3 separate regions of the Homo sapiens genome follow, and regions 2 and 3 are each linked to region 1. Evidence: promoter capture Hi-C in 16 types of primary human blood cells and fetal thymus (Javierre and others, 2016). All regions are on one chromosome and are shown on one strand. Each heading gives the region's core, a stretch centred on a gene start or on the middle of the fragment in contact. The rest is flanking DNA. Distances are from core to core; before and after follow the strand shown.

Region 1 (3,358 bases), core at 594-3,093:
CGCCACTGCATTCCAGCCTGGGTGACAGAGCAAGAATCCATCTCAAAAAAAAAAAAAAAAAAAAAAAGAGATCTTGCCTTCCAATAAATGCGTTACCAAAGACCCATCAGTTTGGACTTATTTTCTAAGCCATAAAGAGAGATCTTATTAATGTCTACAAATACAACTCTTGATTATTTGTACAAACAGAGGGTATGGCAAAGACCACTACCACATACATGGCAAAATTCAAACCTAGTGATGTATTTGGTTGGAGGGTGTTCCTTAAGTATTACAGCTTTAAAGGTGGCCCCAGAATACAGGATTTATGGAAGGGTGTCAACAAATTATTAATATTTTATAACCTATCCAGCTCATGTCCAGAAAAACATAAAAGCAAATGCTCTAAAAAGACTGGAACGTTACTGATTCTACGTAACATGAGTATGAGTCAGGAAAAATACTGCCAATCCAAATGTTTAAAACAAAAAGCAGCCACGTAATTTGAAAGTAGTATATTTGAAACCTGTTTACATCTTCAGAACATTCCTGGCCTGATGATTAGATAGCAAAATCCGTCTGTAAAGCTGACTGTGAAGTTACCAAACTCAACCATTATTTTATTATAATTTGTTAAAAACTCTGCATCCAAAGGATTACAAGTCTACAACAAGAAAAAGCACAAAAACAATTTGTCAAACCGTGGGCCTCCTTTGAGTAACAAATAGCAATTTTTAACCTCTGGATAGCAGCTAGATATACCCTTGTCATCGTGAAGCTAAAATGACCCAGTTAACAATTGCAGGGAGTTGCTGAAATGAGGTATGGCTAGAAAAATGAAAGTCAGTCTGGCTTTAAAAGCAAAAGTCTACCATTAAACTAATGAAAGACTGCTCTGAGCACAGTATGTCAGGAAAAGGCAGGCACTCTGAGATCACCATCTTTGTACCTACATAACTGTCACTAGCTAAGAATCGCTGTGCAAAAAGACAAAAACACACAAAAGGAAACCAACAGATAGTACCGTTTGTAAAAGAATGTGATGATATTTTAATGCGAGGGGGATGGGAGGCAGCAAGAGAACACACACACCACACATCCTCTGGGAAAATGATCTCTCAGACACACACTGAAATGTTTTTAATCAAAGACCGATACAGTAGGAATGCACAAGGAGTGCAACGTAAAAAGAGGTCATCAATGTAGCTAGTGGCTTCAGTCACAGAAATAGCACGTGCCCCCACTGATTACAGCACCGCGGGGAGACCGTTATTAAATTATACCGTACGGCTCCGCTCCGGCCCAGGCTAGGAGGATGAGTGCGGGCGAGAAATGCAAACTCATCTGTGACTTGACCCAAGGGGCAGCCCCGTGAACATTCCCTTAAGAGGGCGAATGCATCTCACTCTCAACCATGTCCGGCCACGCCCTCCCGCAGGGAGGCCGCTAAAGTTTTGCTCGAGAGGGGAAACTGAGGTAGAGGTGATTTACATGCGTTGGCGGAGGGAAACCCAGGCAAGCCAGTCTCCCCGGGCCCGGGACCCCGAAGCCGTGGCTGTGGCGGGGATCCTCAAGGGGGCAGGGGGCGGCCCGGAAAGCGGGTCCAGACGATCCGGCTCGAAATCCCCTCCCCCCACAACAGCGTCGCCCGCCAGAGCCGCCGCCCGGTACCTCTCGATGACTGAGGCCACCAGCTGCGGCAACTCCTTCATCTCGAAGGCGGAGTAGGACGCGGACAGCAGGGGCCGCACAGCCACCTCCCAGCCCGGGGTCGTGTCCGCCCCCGTTGCCGGGGTCCCCGGCGCCGGAGCCGCTGCCGCCGCCTCTTCGCCGCCGCTCGTCGCCATCTTCCGTCGTACTACTGCGGCTCCCTCCGGGGGCTTGCCACCGGCCCAGCGCCGCCTCCCAGGAGGGGGCGGAAGTGACGCAATCTGTCGCGTCAGACTGCGCGCCGCCGTCATGGGTCAAAAACGCGACGCGCGGAGCGGCCTTTGCTCTCACCGGGGTCGAGCCGCGGCGAGGGAACGGATCGGAGACGCTGCGCCTGCTCAGAAGGTAGCGCAGCGGGGAAAGGCGGGAGAGCGTTAACTTCTGAGCCTGCGCGGTGGGAGTTGCTCAAGCAGGTGGTAGCGACTTGGCTTCCGGGCAGCGGGTAAAGGTGAGTCTGGGGCATGGGTTCAGTGGGCAAGTCTAGGGCAGCAGAGTTGACTACGCCTCGGCGTATAGAATGGCCCTGGCCTGGGACAGCTAAGGACGACAAGAGGAGGCCGAAGCCTAAAACGCTTTCACCTGCTTCTTCCCCTGCCTAGATCCCCCCAATAGTAATACTAAAGAGCGCCATAGTTTACAAAGATTTCTCCCTCTCACAACACCTTTTAATCACTGATCCGTATTCCCTTAGCACTCAAATCTCTTCTGTTTGGATTGCCCTCATTAACAATCTGACCAGCTCGTACAATGCATCCCTCTTTGCAATTTGCCACGTATGCTTACGTGTTCCCCTTTTTTCTACTGGCAAGGAAAGAATGTAAGCTTTTATTCACAGGAGATGTCTGAGACTTTTGCCGGTAAAATGATCTGGCTACAAGGTCTAAGAGGGAAAAGCAGTTTGCTCGAGGAAAGGTATTCGTGCATTAAGGACAGTCCTGTGAGTGAGATATTGGTGGACGGCTTCAAGCTCTAGCCTGTGGCCTACAGCTGGCCTAAATAAGACTGGGAAGGAACTGTGAAGACGGTTTCAAATTCCTAAAGCCCTGAAATTCTCCCCCTAAGTTTAGGAAGAGCTTTTGTTCTTGGTGTGTAACACTGATAAATGAATTGGTACCTAGTGATTAATCTGCACTTTTATTAAGATATGACCTACTTTACCTTTTTTGAGACAGGATCTTGCTCTGTCGCCCAATAGCCCAGGCTGGAGTGCAGTGGCAGAGTTGCAGCTGGCTGCAGCCTCCACCTCCCTGGCTCAAGTGATCTTCCAGCCTCAGCCTCCCCAGTAGCTGAGACTATACAGGTGCAGGCCACCACTCTTAATTTTTTTTGTTTGTTTTTAAGAGACAGGTCTCCCTACGTAGCCCAAGCTGTTTTCGAAGTCCTAGGTTCCTCCCACCTTGGACTCCCAAAGTGCTGGGATTACAGGCTTGACCCACTGCGCCCAGCCTGCATCTTTACATTCGAAATAAAATTCAGTCAAGTCAAAGCCGGTCTTGGAGGAAAATGTGGCTTTGATGACAGCAGTAGGGATTTTCCTTCAGTGCCTACTTACCAGAGGATAATAATAACAGCAAGTTTCTTAAACATAAAAACATCAGAAATGAAAAAGAACTTTCCATAACACTATAAATATTGCAGTATTTCAAGATACTGAACCAGAGCCCTAAGG
Region 2 (3,176 bases), core at 509-3,008, 130 kb after region 1:
CTCCCCCAGGTGGGCAGGGGATCAGAAGACAAGGGTCCAAAGAGGACTCCTCCTCTGTTTTAAAACTGTAAAGCAGGTGACTGAAATCTGTCGCCCACCCCAGTCCACGAGCTGGGGCAGCCCCGGGACTGCAGCCTGCCTCTCCTCTGGGCTGGGCTGTGAGAGCTACACCACGGCAGTGGGTGAGAGGGCTGGCCGCTAAAGGCATAGCACAGCCCGACTCACACGGTGCTGCTGGACTGCAGAGCGTGTTCTAGATTCATCATCTCAGCCGACCGTGCCTCCTCGACTGGACAAGGGCCTCTGCGAGGAGTGCCAGAGGCCATGCAGCTCGGGATGACAGAGCTTAGGGGAGATCCCGGCCTCCTGACTCTCCTGACTCCAAGGCCAGTGCTCCCTCCACAGCCGTTTACTGCCCCCAGCTGGGCTCTGGCCTCATGTCAGAGGCCTGCCTCCTGCTCTGTCCGCCGTGGACCTGGAGGGTCCAGAGAGCGCCCGGCTTTTGTTTGGGCTGACACTGCAGAGCTGAGGGCACGAGGTGGGAAGGATGGTGCAGGACACTGGCCACTGGCAGCAGAGCCCTGGCAGAGGACGTCAGAGAGGCTGGGGCCCCCTGAGAACGCCCAGGCTGAGGGCCCTGCCTGCATGTGGCGTCAGGGAGGCTGGGGGCCTGAGAAGGCCCGGACTGAGGGCCCTGCCTGCACGTTGCGCTCTGCTGTCTCGGAGAGCAGGCCAGCCAGAGGCAGCCGGGCTGCCCGGAATGTGGTGTCATGGCTCCCCTAGGCCCAGGCTGGAGGGTGGGGAGATTTTTGAGCGGGGACTGACAAACTGCAGGGCTGAGGAGGCTCCGGGGGCAAGGGCACCAATGGCTGTTAGGGTGAACATGCCCCAGAAAACAAATGGTGCAGATAGGGACCGACAGCTGCTACGGAGAGTGCAGATGACACATCAGGACTTTACTTTCCAAAATCAACATAATGATCATCCCAGAAGAGGGGCACTGCAGCCTACCAATGAGGACACCGAGGCCCAAGACCACACAGCTAGTAACTGGCAGAGCCAGGGTTCAAATCCCTCTGTCTGCTTCTAAAGCTTGTGCTTTCTGGTACATTACCTCAGCCCATTGACGATATCCTTTGTTTTTCCAAAGTAGATCTCGTTCAGCGTACTTCTGATTTTATTTTCCATGTCCTGGAAGGGAGGTCGGTCAGCGCAGTGGCAAAAGGTCAGGAACCCTGAGGCCCACGCCCTCCCTCCACCTGCCAGCCCTGCAGTCCCCAGTGTGGCCACTGGAGGGTGGCACACGCCTGCTCTGGGGCATCAGTGAGCGCGCTCCAGGCTGCCAAGACCCCACCTGCCATCTGTGCTCCCGGCACCTTCCCATCCACAGTCCACAGGCAGGGAGGAAGCCAGTACCCAGGGATTGGCGGCCAGCTCTGCCCATGCCTGGGAGCTGCTCTAAACCACATCACCACCCCTTGGGCTCCCCACTAATTTTGTGAACAATTCTGTGAAACCCGAGAGCACCTCCCTGCCTTCCCAAACAACGTGGTGACAGGAGGGCCAAGGCAGCCGCAACTGAAGCCACACCAGGGCCCACTGGCATTCCTGGGATCTGCTTCCTCTCCCAGCGCAGGGCCCTGTTCACACCCAGGCGATCAGGGGAGACAAGACCTAGTGCGCCCCAGAGCCAGCGCCTGAGCAGTCTTCTGGGAGCCCAGGTCTGGGGGTGGAGCAGGAGGTGGCCCTGAAGCTGGAGCCTGCTGGCATCCAAATCAGAGGCTCCAAAAATATGAGGCCAGGGCAAAATCCAAGAAGCGCTCTGCCGGCTGCGGTGGAGCTGAGAGAAAGCAGCAGAGAAGGAGGCCAGCACAGCGGCTCCGGGGCTGCAGTGTCACTGCTGTGGGTCACTGCAGGAGCCAGCCAGAGCCCAGGTCACTCACCTCTACCAGGCGCCCGATGTTGGCTATGTGTGGGGAGCAGTCACTCACAGTTTCATCCTTCTCCATCTGCAAAAGACAGAAACATTCCAAGTCAGAGAAAGCCAGAGATTTCTGAGAACGGCAGACAGCCCACCCCACCTCCACGGTCTGCAAAGAGCCTACTGTTCCCACCGTGGAGCCAGCTGCAGGTATGACAAGGCCAGTTTTGCAGCCTGGGAACTGAAGCACAAACCGACTTCAGTTTCAGACCATAAAGAGCCCAGAGGGCAGAAGCCCAGAGTCCCACTTCCAAGGGAGAAGATTTTGCTGCTGCCCATGGTAGAGCAGGCAGATGCCCAGAGCCACAGCAGCAGCCCTTGGCAGGCACCAGCTCACCCGAGCCAACTGGAGAAGACTCACTCGGTTTGTCTTCAGGCCTCTACTGGCAGGCCCAGGCCCACGCTGGGCCATCCACCCCAGGTTCAGGGCCTGACACTGCAGGGGAAGCTTCTGTGCTGCTGCTGCGCCCTGGCGCTCCCAAATGGTGGCTTTGGGGTGCCATCTGCTGCAGTCTCGCAGGGAGGGACAGACAACCTCTGACGGAGACTTCAGGCCAGAGGGATTCAGTGGCTCACCCTAGTCATGCAGGTGGCAATGGCAGAGCCTGGGTCAAACCCTTCCTCGCACCAGGGCCTGTTCGTTCTACTCTGCGAGGAGAGTTTGAGCAAGAGAGTCTCAATATAGACTCTGAGGTTATGAGGGGGGCAGCAGCACTCAAGCCCCATCTCCTCTTCCCAAGCCCAGGAAGAGCTGGCTCTGACCCAATCATCTCAACTCGGAGGAGGGAGGAAATGGAGGCAGGTTAGGGTAGAAGGAATTCGGCACTTTCCCCCGAATTTTTTCTTATCTGAAGCCTTATTTCCCTGACAAGAATATAAATTCTTTCAGGAGAGATGTGCCTGCCTCATAACGCACAGGGTACCTGGAAGAGTGCTAGGAACATAAATGCTCAACGTTACTACACTGAAAACAGGAATACGCAGCTACGATGACTAATGTTGTTGAAATAAAATGTGGAAGCTGAAATAAATAATCAAGAAAGAGGAAGAAAAGAACAGCATCAGAAAGGGTAGAGTAGAAACCATGCAAGAAGTGGCCATCAAATTATAATACAAAAATGCAGTACTCTAAGGCTAAGCATTTATTGTTGAGATTCTAAATCTGCTTAGACATTATTTATAATTTTTGAAGCTT
Region 3 (3,481 bases), core at 800-3,299, 250 kb before region 1:
ACCTTCCCCATAGTTCCTTCCCTCAACCACAGTTCCTTGCTTCCTGCCAACACGGACTCACCTTAAACACCCAGCTCTGAAACTCACTCATCTAGAAACCTTTCTCTGCTTAACCCAACCCAGTCTGGACACTGCCCTTTACTCTTCGTTCTCTCGTCTCTTGATGATGTTCTTGTTTATCTAACCTAAGGAATCAAAACCCCTTTGCCTTGAAGCAGAGGTTCATGGACCCCCAAGAGGACTGAGGATAGAATTCTGGGGGGTCCATGACACAGGGGTGGACAAAAGTTATACCTTTAGCCTCACTAATCTCTAAAGGCTTTGTTGTCTGTTTGTTTATTTGTTTGTTTGAAACAGAGTTTCACTCTTGTTGCCCAGGCTAGAGTGCAATGGTGCGATCTTGGCTCATCACAACCTCCACCTCCGGGGTTCAAGAGATTATCCTGCCTCAGCCTCCCAAGTAGCTGGGATTACAGGCATGCGCCACCACACCCGGCTAATTTTTTTGTATTCTTAGTAGAGATGGGGGTTTCTCTATGTTGGTCAGGCTGGTCTTGAACCCCCAACCTCAGGTGATCCGCCCACCTTGACCTCCCGAAGTTCTGGGATTACAGACGTAAGCCACCGTGCCCAGCCAATGGTTTTTAACATATCCTTTGATTATGAATGTAGGCAGCAAGTAGATGTCCCTGTGATTTTGTCACTAGTAGAAATCACAGGTATTTATGTAACACACTACAGTTATTGTAAACATCTCAAGATATCATCTAAGCTACGAGAACTGTGAAATTAAAGTCATATTAGACCGACCACTAAATCTTATTTAATGTATTAGTAAAAGAGAACGTATGTTACTATATGAGAAATTGTTAATAGTTTGATATCTATTTTTAGTAAAATGACTTTTCATAGTAATCCTAATGCCTTTTTAAAAAAATTATTCTCAGAAGGGGTCCACAGGCTCCACCCAATGCCTGAGTGGTCCCATGGAAGAGAAAGGGTTAAGAAGTCACACCTGGGGAGTGGCTCCCTGCAACCTCTTCCAGGAAGGATCTGTCCTTCCAACAAAGTTGCCCTGGAATTGGGGTGTGCAGCCCTCCTTGAGGGTGGGGGCAGCCCTGCCCTGGGCCCTGGAGATATTCAGACTTTCCGTGATGACTTGTGGAGCACCTGCTTCGGCACAAATCCTGCATTAAATGCAGAGGAAGGAGCTAAAGGGGCTCCAGGGGAGCTGATGGAGACAACCAAAAAAGACCATCCTGAGGCATGGGAGTGGGTGCAGAGGGGGGAAAAGGAGATGGCCAAGCAGAGCCCAGAAGATCTGAAGGAATTGAGGGAAGTGGTAGCTGGACCTGAGAGGGTTTTCAGCTGAACCCTAGAAACATGATATGTGCAAACAAAATGGCTTGAAAATAGCTTCGTGGCCACATAGGAATAAAGGCGGGTGCTGCGTGTCTTGCTCTTTGTGGGTAAAATGTGAGGTTAGGTTAACCTAACAGTCCTCCAGCTAGGGTGACCAACCATCCCAATTTATCAGGAACTGAGAAGGTTTCTCTTGATGCTAAAACCTGGAAAGTAAATCAGAACGAGCAAATCAGAACAAATGTGTCACCCTACTTCCAGCCCATATCAATCTGGAGGCATCTGAGGCCAGAAGTCCTATAGTTCAGGATACAGCCAGCCCAGATTTCTTGTTTCAGGGACCAGAAAACTGAGGACCACAGAGAGGTAAGGACTGACCCAGGTCTCCTGAATAATTGGTATCAAAGCCTGGTCTGGAATTCTGGTCCCATTCCCTTTCCAATGGTAGGTCCTCCCTGGCCCAGACAATGAATTCAGTGGTCTCCTCCCCTTAACCCCAGACACTGGCAGGCTGGCTCCCCCATTCAAGATCCAAAGGGGGCTAAAGGTGGGTCCTCAAGGCAGCGGAAGAGTTCCAACAGACAAAGGAACATCCCTGTGGGGGACGCCAGCCTCCTCTCACTAAACAAGGATAATTAGGTTTTTGTTTTTTGGCAGGGTACCTCCCCTTGACCCTCAAAGTCACAGCGGTGTGTCTAACCTGTCCAGACTGTTTTTGGAGGCAAGAGTGGGGAGTGGAAAAAGGTGGGCTTTTAAGACAAGAGATTGGCTAAGGTTTGTATCTAAGTCACTTTACCTCTCTGAGGCTCTATTTCCTCATCAGGGAAATGGGCATAACTGCTCTCAATGAACAGTTGCTGAATGAATGAATAAAAGAATTAAGAAATGAATGAGAAAATGACTTTTATTCTTCCTGCCCCACTCCCCAGCCATTTCACCTGCTAACAACTCCTCATCCTTCAGGTCCCAGCCTCAAGCACGGAACCTTCTCTTCTCGGAAACTTCTCTTCTCGGAACCTTCTCAAGTACCTGCCAGGTCTGGGTGGAGGGTGCTTCCTCCAGGCTCTGCCAGCACTGCCCACCCTGTGGCAGCCCCAAGTATACGCTCTTGTCATTGCTGGATTTCTCATCTGCATCTCCACCCCTTCTAGCCCAGCCTTCTAACACTTGCTAACCCATATTCTCTATTAGAGCAGAAGCACTTGATCAGATTCACCCTGGAACCCATATCCTGGCATGGTACCTGGCACATAATAGGTGCTCAACAAAGATGAGTTCAGGTGAACAAATGAATGAGCTGTTAGTTACTGGAGAAATTCCTGTAAAGTGGATCATGGCTGCTTAGGAAATGTTATATTTGCAGAACGTAATTGCATTTCTTTTTTTTACTTTATTGAGGAATATTTTACATATTATGTAATTCACCCATGTCAATGGTTTTTAATAAATTTACCAAGTTGTGCAAACAACGCTATAAACCAGTTTTAGAATATTTCATCATCCCCACTCCTACCCCCTGCCCCAGACAACCGCTAATCTGGGATCTGTCTCTATGGAGTTGCCTTTTCTACATATATCAGATAAATGACATTTTACAATATGTGATCTCTTGTGTCTGGCCACTTTCATTGAGCACAATGTCTTTGAGGCTCATCCATGTGGTAGCATGTATCAGTAGTTTGTTCCTCTTTATAAATGATCTCTTTTTAAATTTCAATAGTTTTAATTTTTCCTTTTCTGTACTCAGTTCTTCATCTGGAAATAAGACTATAGGACTATCTGACCTGGGGCCAGGTGCAGTGGCTCACACCTGTAATCCCAACACTTTGGGAGACCGAAGCGAGTGGATCACTTGAGACCAGGAGTTTGAGACCAGCCTGGCCAAAGGCTTAACACCGTCTCTAGTAAAAATGCAAAAAAATTAGCTGGGCATGGTGGCATGTGCCTGTAGTCCCAGCTACTCAGGAGGCTGAGGCACAAGAATCACTTGAACCCCCAGAGGCCAAGATTGCACCACTACACTCCAGGCCAGCCTGGGTGAGAGTGAGACCTGGTATAAAAAAAAGAATATCTGACCTGGTGCAGTGGCTCACACCTATAATCCCAGGACTTTGGGAGG

Evidence for each region. The method cuts DNA at HindIII sites, captures the fragments that hold promoters and counts their contacts. A CHiCAGO score of 5 or more calls a contact.
Region 2: a fragment that was not itself captured here is called in contact with the fragment with the promoter of UBR4 in region 1 in 1 of 17 cell types (neutrophils); the score reaches 5.8 in neutrophils.
Region 3: a fragment that was not itself captured here is called in contact with the fragment with the promoter of UBR4 in region 1 in 1 of 17 cell types (fetal thymus); the score reaches 5.7 in fetal thymus.

What each region holds. Positions count from the first base shown.
Region 1 is chr1:19,208,423-19,211,780 of GRCh38, forward strand. It overlaps UBR4 (ubiquitin protein ligase E3 component n-recognin 4), which reads right to left and starts at 1,844. Exons shown (of 106, transcript NM_020765.3): 1 at 1,651-1,844. The coding sequence starts at 1,826. EMC1-AS1 (EMC1 antisense RNA 1) reads left to right here and starts at 1,964. Exons shown (of 2, transcript NR_135114.1): 1 at 1,964-2,137. RefSeq lists silencers at 1,514-1,833, 2,859-2,928 and enhancers at 1,884-1,933, 2,184-2,233. The HindIII fragment of the contact is 5,774 bases long and covers 1-2,509 here.
Region 2 is chr1:19,343,244-19,346,419 of GRCh38, forward strand. It overlaps CAPZB (capping actin protein of muscle Z-line subunit beta), which reads right to left. Exons shown (of 9, transcript NM_004930.5): 7 at 1,944-2,009; 8 at 1,115-1,191. Among named protein-coding and RNA genes, the nearest start is that of SLC66A1, 33 kb to the left of the region's middle. RefSeq lists an enhancer at 1,180-1,229. The HindIII fragment of the contact is 1,337 bases long and covers 1,091-2,427 here.
Region 3 is chr1:18,958,177-18,961,657 of GRCh38, forward strand. No RefSeq gene overlaps it. Among named protein-coding and RNA genes, the nearest start is that of IFFO2, 3.2 kb to the left of the region's middle. The HindIII fragment of the contact is 4,369 bases long and covers 1-3,481 here.